Regions from separate parts of the Homo sapiens genome. Here region 2 is linked to region 1. Evidence: promoter capture Hi-C in human tissues and cell types (Jung and others, 2019). All regions are on one chromosome and are shown on one strand. The core of a region is centred on a gene start or on the middle of the fragment in contact, and the rest is flanking DNA. Distances in the headings are between cores, read along the strand shown. Region 1 holds the start of GALNT13 (polypeptide N-acetylgalactosaminyltransferase 13). Region 2 overlaps GALNT13 (polypeptide N-acetylgalactosaminyltransferase 13).

The links. The method cuts DNA at HindIII sites, captures the fragments that hold promoters and counts their contacts. A contact is called where the count stands out against the background at its distance.
Region 2: a contact is called between a fragment that was not itself captured here and the fragment with the promoter of GALNT13 in region 1, in 3 of the 25 tissues and cell types used here (aorta, hippocampus and mesenchymal stem cells).

Annotation. Positions count from the first base shown.
Region 1 is chr2:153,868,089-153,874,256 of GRCh38, forward strand. GALNT13 (polypeptide N-acetylgalactosaminyltransferase 13) reads left to right here and starts at 3,834. Exons shown (of 13, transcript NM_052917.4): 1 at 3,834-4,215. The HindIII fragment of the contact is 9,874 bases long and covers 1-6,168 here.
Region 2 is chr2:154,138,122-154,144,289 of GRCh38, forward strand. It overlaps GALNT13 (polypeptide N-acetylgalactosaminyltransferase 13), which reads left to right. Exons shown (of 13, transcript NM_052917.4): 4 at 2,216-2,384. Among named protein-coding and RNA genes, the nearest start is that of GALNT13, 270 kb to the left of the region's middle. The HindIII fragment of the contact is 6,291 bases long and covers 1-5,555 here.

The DNA.
Region 1 (6,168 bases), core at 2,584-5,083:
GCTAGGCATTTTCTTCTTCTCACTGGTAGGCACTGGGAATATAGCAGTGAGCATTAGCCTTAGCTCACTGCTGTATTCCCAGTTCCTAGTAAATAACTGTCATTCTGTAAGTGCTCAATGTATATTCATGGGATGTATGACTGAACCCTAAGTTTTGTGCAGGCTGTCTTTACTTTCCTCTTTGTCTTCAAAACCTATTGCAGTGCTTAGCTCATTGTAAGTACAAAGGAGGTAAGCAGAGCCCCAGAGTATAAAGGTTCTTATAGGGCATGTTAGAGATTTTAGACAATTTCTTAAAATCAATGAGAAGCCACTTAAATGTTATAATTAGAAGAAAATATTATTAGATTTCATTTTAGAAAATAAAGTTATTGCTTTCAGTGTCCCTTAATAATGGCATCTCCATCATCCTACTCATCCAATCTTAATCTCTTAAAGTTATATAATACATTTTCCTTTATCCATCATTCCTAATAATTTGCCAAAACCTGGTAATTTAATTTCAGCAAGACATAACTATCTCACCCTTTATTTCCCTTTAGAATGAGCGCCTTGGTTAATCACATAATGGACAATTGTAGCTGCTAAACTCATATCCCTGTCTTTTGTATACTCTGTAGCTAAGGCCCTATACATTTGGCCTTATATTGGCCAATAGACATTCTTGGCCTGGTAGCCCTTGTATTGGCCTTATAGCCAAGAATTGTACAGTATTGGTCTTACCATTTATCTAAGCAAATACTTGCAATAGCTCCACTTTGATTAAAGATAAATGCCAAACTTTCTGTTTGAAAAAATATGACTTTTTAATAACTTTCAACACTCATTCAGATAAATTATTGTGGTTATTATTCTTATGAGGTAAATAATGATAACTACCTGATTTTTAAAAAAGTATTTAAACTTCAAGAAATATTGCAAAATTACTACAAAGAATTAACACATACCCCTCACCAAAATTTACCAATGGTGTTATAAAAGGTTGCCACATTTGCATCATCATTCTCTCTATAGGTATTTCTGGACCTTACAACCTCTATGTTCTTTTTACTGCAAAATATTTTATTATATTTTTTAAAGATCCAGGGCTTTCTTATATATGATCACAATACAATTAAATTAGGACACTTAATATTGATATAAAACTAATTTGATTATAAATAAAAGTCATACAGTTTAGATATTATAGTTTTTATTAATATTTTGAATTAGATTGTCTCAGTAATGCTCTTTATATTAATAGATATTATTCCCAGTTTGCTCTCCAATTCTGGATTACACATTGCATTTAGTAGTCATGGTTTTTAAATCTCCATTAGTCTGGAATATTTCCTCAGCTTTTCTTTGACTTTCATCACAGTGACATTTTTGAAAAGTATAGGCAAGATATTGTGTAGAATTTTCCTTAATTTAAGGCTTTCTTTGCTTTCTCGTGATTGCATTCAATTATGCATTTTTTAATCTGGAATCCTAAATCAATAATGTTATGTACTTCTCAGTGCATCATATCATGAGGCTCATGATATCACTTGGTCCCATTATTGGTGACTTTAACCTTGGTCAGTTGGTTAAGGTGATGTTTACCAGATTTATCCACTACATGTAATTTATTATTCGTTTGTAATTAAGGATCTATAGTATATTATAAAAACAGCCTCAAGTTATTTTTGTGTATGCATTCTCCTTGAAATATGGCATTATAGTTTCTCCCATCAAGACATGGACTATATTATCTATGTTTGGGCCATGTAACTTCCATGGCTAATGAGACACCAGCAAATGTACGTCCACAGAATCTCAGAGTACTTCACATTGGAGCTTGCACTCCCTTGTTGCTTTTTGGAGCCCTGCAACTACGACTACTGCTAGCCTATTGAAGGATGATGGGCTAGATTAAACAAAAGACAAAACATTGCAGCTGAGTCCCACACCCTCAAGACTAATAAGTATGCCACACCAGACAAGTGAGTGAAGCCATCCTAGATCTCTAAACCAAACTGAGCTAGCCAGGGCAGAAACCAACCTGACAACCCACAGAGCTTTGAGAAATTACAGATGTTTATTGGTTGGGGCTAATAAGTTTTGGAATGGTGTGTTATGCACCAAAAGCCAATACTTTCTAGGGTGATACTTTGGGACTACGTAAATATCCAATTACCCAAATAAATTTTACCAAGTTTATGATTCTGCCTAAGTTAAATATTATCACAAAGACTGCAAAATGGAATTGCGCCTTTTTTTAAGAGATGAAACATGTAAGAATGGGGGCTTATTTGTCTTTGAAAAACATAGGACTAGTAAGTAGCTGTATCAGCATCAGAACCCCAATCTTTTACCTGGTCCACAGTTTTTCTCAGTATGCCATGTAGAGGTGAGTGACCTGATGTTAGGACTGGAATTCACTAGAGAGAGCAGTAGAGAGACATTCCAGAGTGTTATGAGTGGGACCCTGTGTACTCACACATGCACAGAAGCATCTCTGGTAAATGCTCCATAATTGACGGTAGGGCAGGATGGACAATGTAGGAGGAGACATTAATACAGTTATTAACATAGAAATTTAAATGATACTTGACTCACGAAAAGATATAAAGATAATATCTCTGGAAATTGCCTTTCATGAGTATAATCAAGAATGGCATTGACATACTAGATTATGATTAATAGTATCATATGTTTGTCAAACGTGGCTGTTTAATATTTTTATGTAGTCGTTATATCCTCCCCCAATTCTGCCAAAAACATCCTATAAGATGTGTGAAGTGACACTGTGAGAAGCAAGGACCCCTGTCAGCCCTTATTACAAACAAGACAACTGACACCCGAAGGGCCAAAACTAGCCAAGAGCCACAGTGAATAAATTGCCAAGCAGGCACTTGAACTCGGCAATCCCAATTTCCTAGAAAAGTTCCTCTCCCATGGCAGTGGGGGACAGGTCCCAAGTCTTTGAGACGCTAATAATGTCTGCGTCTTAGGTTTCTGCCTTGTGCCAGGCACTGTTCTAAAATCTTTACATGTATTTAAACTCAGTACCATGGGGGTATTGGTACAACACATTAACTGAGACATTCATACGTCCAGGTACTTCGGAGTGGGTGTGTGTTTAATATCATACCTACTTGCCTGAGAAAGGAATTCAAAGCCCCACTTTTTTCTTTACCTCTTCATAAAAATTTGAGAGCCACAAGGAAGCGCTCTGTGTTTCCAGTACTCTTACAGTGCGTTCGGTGGCAGTAGTCACCGCCAACCAGAACACTAGGATCCTGCCAGGGTGTAGATACTGTAACCAACAAGAGGCCAACCTCCGTCCTTTCTGCGGAGGGCGCCGAAGCGTCAAGTACCCCGCAGCATCTCTCGGCTGGAGAGCCGACGGCAAGGGTGGGGTTGCCGGCGCTTTCCCCGAGGGCAGTCTCTGATCCTCCAGCTCCCCTCTAAGAGGCTCCCTGGTGCATTGGGCGAACGCGGTGCACGCAGGCCGGCTTTGGCGTTGTGGGGCCCCAAAGCGGCCAGGGGTCGCGAGGCGCCCTCCGGCGAGAGGAGCTGACCCCAGGGTTGCTCTTGGGGGCCGTGCCTGCCAAGTATCGCGGGACTTGCGCACATCGCAGAAGCGCCAGCTCCAGAAGCAGCTGGAGCGCGCTCGGTGCGCACCGCCCCAGCCCGGGGAGGAGCGGGAGCAGGGAGGGAGGAGGGCTGGGGGTGCTGGTTACGTAAATGATACTAGCCCAGTGAGAGGCCTCCAGGCTGGGGCTACGAGAGGAGGAGGGACCACGCGAGGAGGAGGGACCGGGAGGCGGCGGGCTGGGGTGGGAGGGGGGCGGGGGCCGGGGAGAAGTGACCAGGCGGCGGCGGCTCTGCTGAGGTGACAACGTGCTAGCAGCCCTCGCTCGCTCTGGGCGCCTCCTCGGCCTCAGCGTCCGCTCTGGCCGCGCTCGAGGAGCCCTTCAGCCCGCCGCTGCGCTATGAAGGCCCCTCTCTGGGGCTGGCCGAGGCTGGAGCCGGCTCCCTCTGCTCGCGGGCAAGTGTGAAGAGAGAGGCGCGGGCGGGAGCCGGGGCTGCGCGCGGCGCTCGCGGGCCGGCGCGGGTTCCAGGTGAGCGCGGACTCGGCGAGCCCCGCACTCGGCGCGGCCGGCCGGCGCCTGCTGGGCTTGATCTGAGGCTGAATCCCGTGTGTGGACCGCCGTTCCCTCTTCGCGGGATCGTTGGCCAGGATAGCAGGTCTCCGTCTCTTTCTCGCTTCCCCTCTTTTCCTCTTGATTGTCTGGGACGAGCTCCCTCTGGGCTGCCAGAGTGCCGGGGCTAGGTGCCGCAAAGTCCCGCGGCGAGTGCCGGGGCGCGGAGCCGAGCGCCCCGGGCCGGTCCCAGGGCAAAGGCAGGGGCGCGGGCGGACCTGGCGACGCGGCCTCCCGGGAGCTCCGAGTGCGCTCGCTTGCGGGGCTGCAGGTGTTGCGGGAGGACCGCGTGGCGCGGAACTTTCTGCCGCCGCCCACCTTCTGCTCTGCTTTTCTGGCTACCCCGGTGAGTTGTTGGTGGCGGGGGGGGGGGGGGGAGCGGCTCTGGCCCCCTCTGCGTTCTGGTGACGTTCCTCCGCGGGGGTGGCTCGGCCTCCAAGCCCAGACAACTTTCTCGCACCAGCTGCAGGCAGCCCCGGCTGCGTTGCGGGCGTTTCTACTCGACCCGACACCAGGCGCTCCCTGGGTCTTGGGTGTCTTCCTCGACGGTTGCCTTCGTATAGTGCCCCCTTTGCCTCGCTTTTTCAGAGTCCTCTTGCCTCTCATTCTCGCCGTGTGTGTCTCTGCCTCTGTTTCTCTTTCTGAGCCTTGGTCCCCTCAGTCCACACTCTCCGGCCATGTATCTGTTTTTTTCTCTTATTCTGTTTCCCTCTTTCTTTCTTGGGATATCTGTGTCCCTGTTAATCTGTCTTTCCTTTTGTCTCTCCGTTTTGCAACATTTGTTCTCTTTCTGTGTCTGCTTCTCGCAGCTTATCTCTGTCTCCCTCTGTCATCTCTCTGCCCCGTCTTCCCGAACACCAGCCCCGCGATCCCGAAGCGCCTTGGTTAGGGGAGCAAGCCCTGGCGCATCTAATGGGTATCTCCAGGTGCAGAGATTTTCCTGCGGGGTCAGTGGGGACGCGGAGGAGACAGCCTGCCCTTGTCCAGGCTGTCGTGGACCTGAAGGAGGGGCGCAAGGGGTTAGAGTGGAGGGCACCGCAGCAGGCTCCCCTTGCCGGGTCCGAGGGCGCTGCGCTGCTGCGAACCTGAGCGCACTGAGGCTGCTACTCTGGACAGCGAAAGCTGCGCAAGCCCCTCCCGCATACCCGATTCTTTGACTATGGTTAGTTGAATTTCCAGGAGGAGAGTCTGCCTCCCCAACCTTTATAGCCAGCTGCAGAAGAACGGACAGTGAGCAGGCAAACATAGATGCTTTGGGGTTCAGGGAAACTAACCTCGAAAGGGTGGGAGCTTTCTTCAGGCAAAGGTGTTGCTAGCAGAGGAGAGGAGCTTTGGGGACTGAGGTATGCCTGCCTTAAACTACCATGCATTCATTGCTTAGGAAAGCGGTTTCCTTGGAGAGATCGTGGTCAGCCTTCCCTGAAACAACATAACAACATAGAGGTTTTATTCGCAAGGCTAAAGGCACTTGGCTGCCAAAGCCCCCTTGAAATTTCTGGTATCCTTGAATATTTTCAGCTTTATGTGAAAGCTGCCTTTCCTCAGAGTCTCAGTCCGTCTCTCTCTCTTTCTCTCTCTCTCTTTTTCTGTGTCTCTCTCTCTCGCTGTCTCCCTGTCTCTCTCTCTCTGTCTCGTTTGCGTTCATGCCCTCTAGTGTTAAAGAAACCTGCTGGTTCGAGAATATTGAAAAGTAAGGTCAACCTATTGGTTATTTACTTTTGGACCTCTCACCTTCCGGGATAATTCTCCTTGTATTACACGCATCCTTTCCTTTTCCTCAAAGAATGACTTTTGCATTACATTACTAATCTTTCTTTCCCCCCGCACCCCCCTCCCGCAATCTCTGTTTTTTTTTTTTTTTTCTTTCCCCACGTCTCCTGCAGAATAAGAACCTTCATATTGAAACCCTGTTCGTTTGATTTGGGAATTGGATAGGTCTGGAGAATTTGCGTAGCCTAAGGCAGACTTTGAACATTAAAAAGATGCATTTCTCTGCACT
Region 2 (6,168 bases), core at 1,160-3,659, 270 kb after region 1:
CACAATTTACTGCCCCTAGCTCCCTACCTAAATCTCCTTTGTATTATCACTTACTGACAATTTATTATTCTTTGTTTAAAGTGATATATAAGCTTTTGGGCCTAAAAGGTTCTTTGACCTTCATTTTCCTTCTGAAGACTCCTGTGTACACATAAAAATACATTTGTATGCTCTTTTCCTATTAATCTGTATTATGCCAGTTTAATTCTTATATCACCACAGAATGTAAGAGGATAAAGAAGGTTTTGTTCCCCTACAAAGATATTGTAAACAACTGTAAACAGGGAATTTCTTTCTTAATTTCCAAAAATTATTTTTAAAAATGTACCCCAAATTATTTAACCATTCAAAAGAATCACAAATTTTCAAAATGTTAAGAATCAGAATATTTTTTATACCAGGGAAAAAGTATCTCTTTTTTATGGAATTAAAGTTACAGTCCAAGATATGTTAAAAAAAAAAAAAAAACCTAAACTGAATATTTATGGTTAATAGGAGCGCCCATGTCACCTGTTTATGTTCTTATTTCAGAATTAGAAAGACTCACAAAGAAGCCACATATAAATTCATTTAATACTTTATGTAGACTAAAAAATTTTTTTAATCTTACAAATGAAAGATACCTTAATGTCATTGTCTCACCGACATCACAAATTCATCCAAAGCCAAATCCAATAACGTCATCTGAGTTTAGGGATATTACATATACTAACACCTAAAGAAAATTATTTTTATTGGAATTTTATTTCTTAAATTTAGAAAAATACACCTTCTCATAAAATTTCTGCCATTGTTTCTATTTTTGCTTTTTAAAGTGAATGATAATCTTTGTAAACTTTATTTTGATGACAACTTTTTAAATAGTTTGAAATTGAATACATATTTTTTTCTATATTCAATGTTTCCAGTTCTAACTATTTTTATATATGTGAGAGGATTTCAAGGCCAATCACTTTTTTTTACCCATATCTAAAGGTCCTTAGAGATGCCTATTCTCTTATATGGTTTGACTCATGCCATTACAAAGTCATCAACTGGATGGTCAACTGTGTATTCATGCTAATAATACCAGTTTTGCTGTTTTGTGGCTATGATGGTTGGCTCAGAGCAAAATTTGCTGGATGTGTTCTATCCTAGTTTTTACCATATTCATACATTATTTTAGAATTTATGTTTTTAATGAAATGTTCTAACTTAAAAATTATTTTCATATGCATTATAGTCCTTATTTTTTTTCAGTATTTCAAGGTATGCTGTGCCTAAATATGTGCCTTTTAATTTATATGGAAATTAAACTCAGTAAGATTAATGTGTTAGGAACTATAATATAGCAGAACATTGGAAGAGTCGAGACATTGGAAGAGTCGAGACCAGAACCACATTCCTTTCACTTTAACCTAATTTAATATCACTCTGAAGAGTAACTTCAGGATGCATTTGGGCCAACTGGCACTTTGTCTTATTACTATATATTAGCATGCATACAGGTATGTGTAGGCAACACACACACACACACACACACACACACACACCCCTTGAAACGTATACTTTAGATCTAGAAGGGACTTTAGTGTAGTGATAACTTGGGAGAAGTGGCGAGAAAATTAGCCTATATATCAAATCCTGCGTTCTCTTCACGAATATTCAAGCCCAGAATATTATTGTGAAGTTTCAATTATAGAGCACATAGTATCCAAATTTCAACTTGACATTTGAAGTTATGTGTCACCACTATGAAGCTTCTTTTGACACAATTCAAAATGTTTAGTTTTGTTTGCCTTTATAAAGATGTAATGGCAGTAGATATGTGAAATATCAAAACATTTAATTGGATGTGAAAATAAATTAATCTTAGTATTCTTTAAAGTTCTTTTATTTTGCATTATTTTGTCTGCCTAGTGTTCAACTTCAGTTTTCTCTAATAGTGTATGAAATATATGACAGAAGTTTTAAGATTGGGTATTTTGTACATTTAGAATTATTGTCTTAATGTTTAGTCATCATATAATTTATCTAAACTTGGAAGATAATACGCAGAATTGATGTTTTTCTTTAGCAGAGTGTGTGGTTTATAATCAGTAAAATCTTGATCATTATATTATAAAACCTGTATGTAAATAATATGCTTCAGAATCTAATCAGACACACAAGTTTATTTATTCAGTTCATTATCTGTGTGTTTGTATGTATGTCTGTATCTCTGTATGTCTTACAGCTGTTATTTCAAGAAACCAAGAAGGGCCAGGAGAAATGGGAAAAGCTGTGTTGATTCCTAAAGATGACCAGGAGAAAATGAAAGAGCTGTTTAAAATCAATCAGTTTAACCTTATGGCCAGTGATTTGATTGCCCTTAATAGAAGTCTGCCAGATGTAAGATTAGAAGGGTAAGTTTGCATTTGTTATATAATCTTTTATATTCATAATCACCATATTTCAGAATCTCAGAACTTGAGCTAACTCAGATTATATCAATTCTAGCAATGTGTGGTTCTGAGTACCTATCACATAGCAGGAATTTATTGTGCATGCATATGCTGAAAAAGGCGAACTATTTTCTTCCCTGGCAAAGAAAAATACGTTACTTGCAAAGATGCTGCAAAATACTCAGGCCAAACAGGTTTTTCTATGTGAGATGTTTTTTGTTGTTGTCATTTTGTTGTGCTTTCTTTATCGTACCAGATTCAGAGCAAATATGCTCTTTAGTAGATTACAGTCGTATATTGCTTAACACTGCAGAAATGTTCTGGAAAATATGTCATTAGGCAATTTTGTCATTGTGTAAGCATCATAGGTGTACTTACACAAACCTATATGGTATAGACTACTACATTTCTAGGTTATATAATGTAGCCTATTGTTTCTAGGCTGTAACTCTGTACAGCATTTTACTGTACTGAACACTAGAGATAAATGTAACATTATGTTAAGTATTTTTGTATCTAAACATAGAAAAGGTATAGTAAAAACACGGTGTAACAGATAAAAATTTGTATACTTGTATAGGTCATGTAACATGAATGGAGCTTGCAGGACTGAAAGTTGCTCTGGGTGAGTCAGTGAGTGTGTAGTGAATGTGAAGGCTTAGGGCATTACTGTACGCTACTTGTAGACTTTATAAACACTATACACTTAGGTTATACTAAATTTCTTTTTAAAATTTCTTTCTTCAGTAATGAATTAACCTTACATTACTGTGATATTTTTACTTCATAAAGTCTTGAATTTTTTTCACTTTTAAACTGTTTAGTATTAATACTTACCTTAAAACACAAGCATACTATACAGCTGTAAAAAATATTTTCTTTCTTTATATCCTTATTCTATTAGTTTTTTTCCATTTTTAATGTGATTTTCAATTTTTTCTTTTAAAAACGAAGACACAAACATACACATTAGCCTAGGTCTATTCGGGGTCAGGATCATCAAACATCACTAGGCAATAGGAATCTTTCTGATTCATTATAATCTTATGAGACTCTCATCATATATGTGATCTGTCATTGGGTAATGCATGGCTGTATTTGCCTTACTGCATAAAAAGGTCCATATACTTTGCTTATAAAAAGTATACCTGCATTGCTTTTCCAGCACAAAAATAGCTCATTGTCTATATGACTCTTTCACCCTATAAAAGTGGTTTATTATGGTTTCCAGCAATTTATACTGCTGTTTATAATTAGAATGCTTAATTATCAGCTATGGAAGAAATATGCACTTGGAAATAATATTGCACGAAAAATGATGTTGAAAAATTCAACTTTTATGTGATTAACTGTAAGCTATGCTCTAGATAGTTGAACATATTTTAAACAGATGTAATAAAATGAAAGTATTTAGTGGCAGAATTGTAATTCTAATATATGGTCCTCGTAAAACAAACTCTTGGCATTAATAAAAGATGTGTCTTGAGATTTTAGAAAATCTCCAGGTTTACAAATATACTGCAGGACACACTTCCATGTAAATAGAAATTGTTCTTTTAAGCACTTAGTGATTTTTCTCTACATGCAATAGAACATAATTAATGCAAATAAAATTTGCCACCTCTAGTGGGCTACATTACACTACTGTGTCATGATATTAGCATCATATTTACTAACTCTTATTTTTTTCTTTCTGAATTACTTCATATAATATGAAAACCTTGGCTGGGCTTGGTGGCTCATGCCTGTAATCCTAGCACTTTAGGAGGCCAAGGCAGGCGGATCACCTTAGGTCAGGAGTTTGAGAGCAGCCTGACCAATATGGTAAAACCCCATCTCCACTAAAAATACAAAATTAGCCAGGCGTGGTGTTGCATGCCTGTAATCCCAGCTACTCAGGAGGCTGAGGCAGGAGAATTGCTTGAACCTGAGAGGCAGAAGTTGGAGTGAGCCGAGATTTTGCCATTGCACTCCAGCCTGGGCAACAAGAGCGAAACTCTGTCTCAAAAAAAAAAAAAAAAAAAAAAAAGAAAGGAAAAGAAAAAAGAAAACCCTGTTGAGATTCCAGGGCTTGTAATTGTCAGAGGTTTATTTGGTATCTTAGCAACTGCTTTGTGACAACCATTGTATACTTTTGAAATGTCTCTCTCAACAAAATCACAAGTAATTACATATTGTGGACATTTTTGGCCCCTGGGGAATAGTTCAACATTTAATATTAAATTTGTGCATTGCAAATTATTATGTAAAAATAATTTTACATGTAGTCCTGTGCATATGTGTGTGTGTGTGTGTATATATATATATATATTTGTTTGTATATAGATACATTTAAAAGTACATACAATAAGCATATACAAAAAATATATACAATAAACAGTCTTCGAAGCAATTTTGAGCATTTTAGATGCTAAGTTTATAATGTTTAAACATTGCATTTATTACTTTGTTTTATATGCTGTAGTATGCTGTAGTGCAATGGTCCCCAACCTTTTGGCACTGGGGACCAGTTTTGTGGAAGACAATTTTTTTACACATTTGGAGGTGGTGGATTGGGGGTTGGGGGTGATTTCAAGACGAAACTGTTCTAACTCAGTTGATCAGGCATTAGATTCTCATAAGGAGCACACAGCCTAGATCCTTCGCATGCGCAGTTCACAATAGGGTTTGTGCTCTTATGAAAATCTAATGCAGTGGCTGATCTGACAGGACACTGAGTTCAGGTGATAATGCTTGCTCTCAGGCAGCTCACCTCCTGCTGTGTGGCTGGGTTCCTATAACAGGCCAGGACCAGTACTGGTTTTCAGCCCCAGGAACCTCTGCTGTAGTGTGATAAAATGAGTGGCTATGATACTTATATATTCCAGAAAACTAGGTAAACACTATTTCAAGTTTTTAAAAAATCTCGACTTTCAACTGTCAGAATACAAATAAATCAGAACCATGAATTAAAAAAAAAATAAGTCTTCACTGAGCTAATGTTTAAAATATTCATAGCCAGTGATTTTTTTTTTTTCTTTTAAGAATCTCTGCCAGGCACGGTGGCTCACACCTGTAATCCCAGCACTTTGGGTGGGAGGCTGAGGCGGGCAGATCACCTGAAGTCACGGGTTTGAGACCAACCTGGCCAACATGGTGAAACCCCGTCTCTACTACAAATACAAAAATTAGCCAGGTGTGGTGGCCCATGCCTGTAATCCCAGCTACTCAGGAGGCTGAGGCAGGAGAATCACTTGAACCCAGGAGGCAGAGGTTGCAGTGAGCCGTGATTGTGCCACTGCACTCCAGCCTGGGTGACAGAGTAAGACTCTGTCTCAAAAAAAAAAAAAAAAAAAAAAAAAAGAATCTCTTAGCTCTAGTTTGTTGTCTTACTCTAAGAAAAAAAGGATCCCTTGGCATACTAAGTTTATGAGTAAGTCTTAAACTGTGGAGCAATCCAACATTTTAAATGAATAATTCAAGTTGCTTAGCATGTAAAGTACATAAAATCCTGTATATACTGTGGTTATTATTGCTTGAATTTTCATGTTTTACAAATAGTCTCTGAAATAATATTAATGAAAAAACTTTTCATTTTATTTTTATATAAAACTACAGTATATGTTATAAGTAAGAAAACAGTAATACCATCCAAAATTCCTAGACAAGTCACAGTGTATGAGGTTTACCAGGGACATTTGCAAGTCATCTTGAATGACTCAATTGTAGAACTGCCTGGGAACAACTAATGTTGAAAAACTTACCA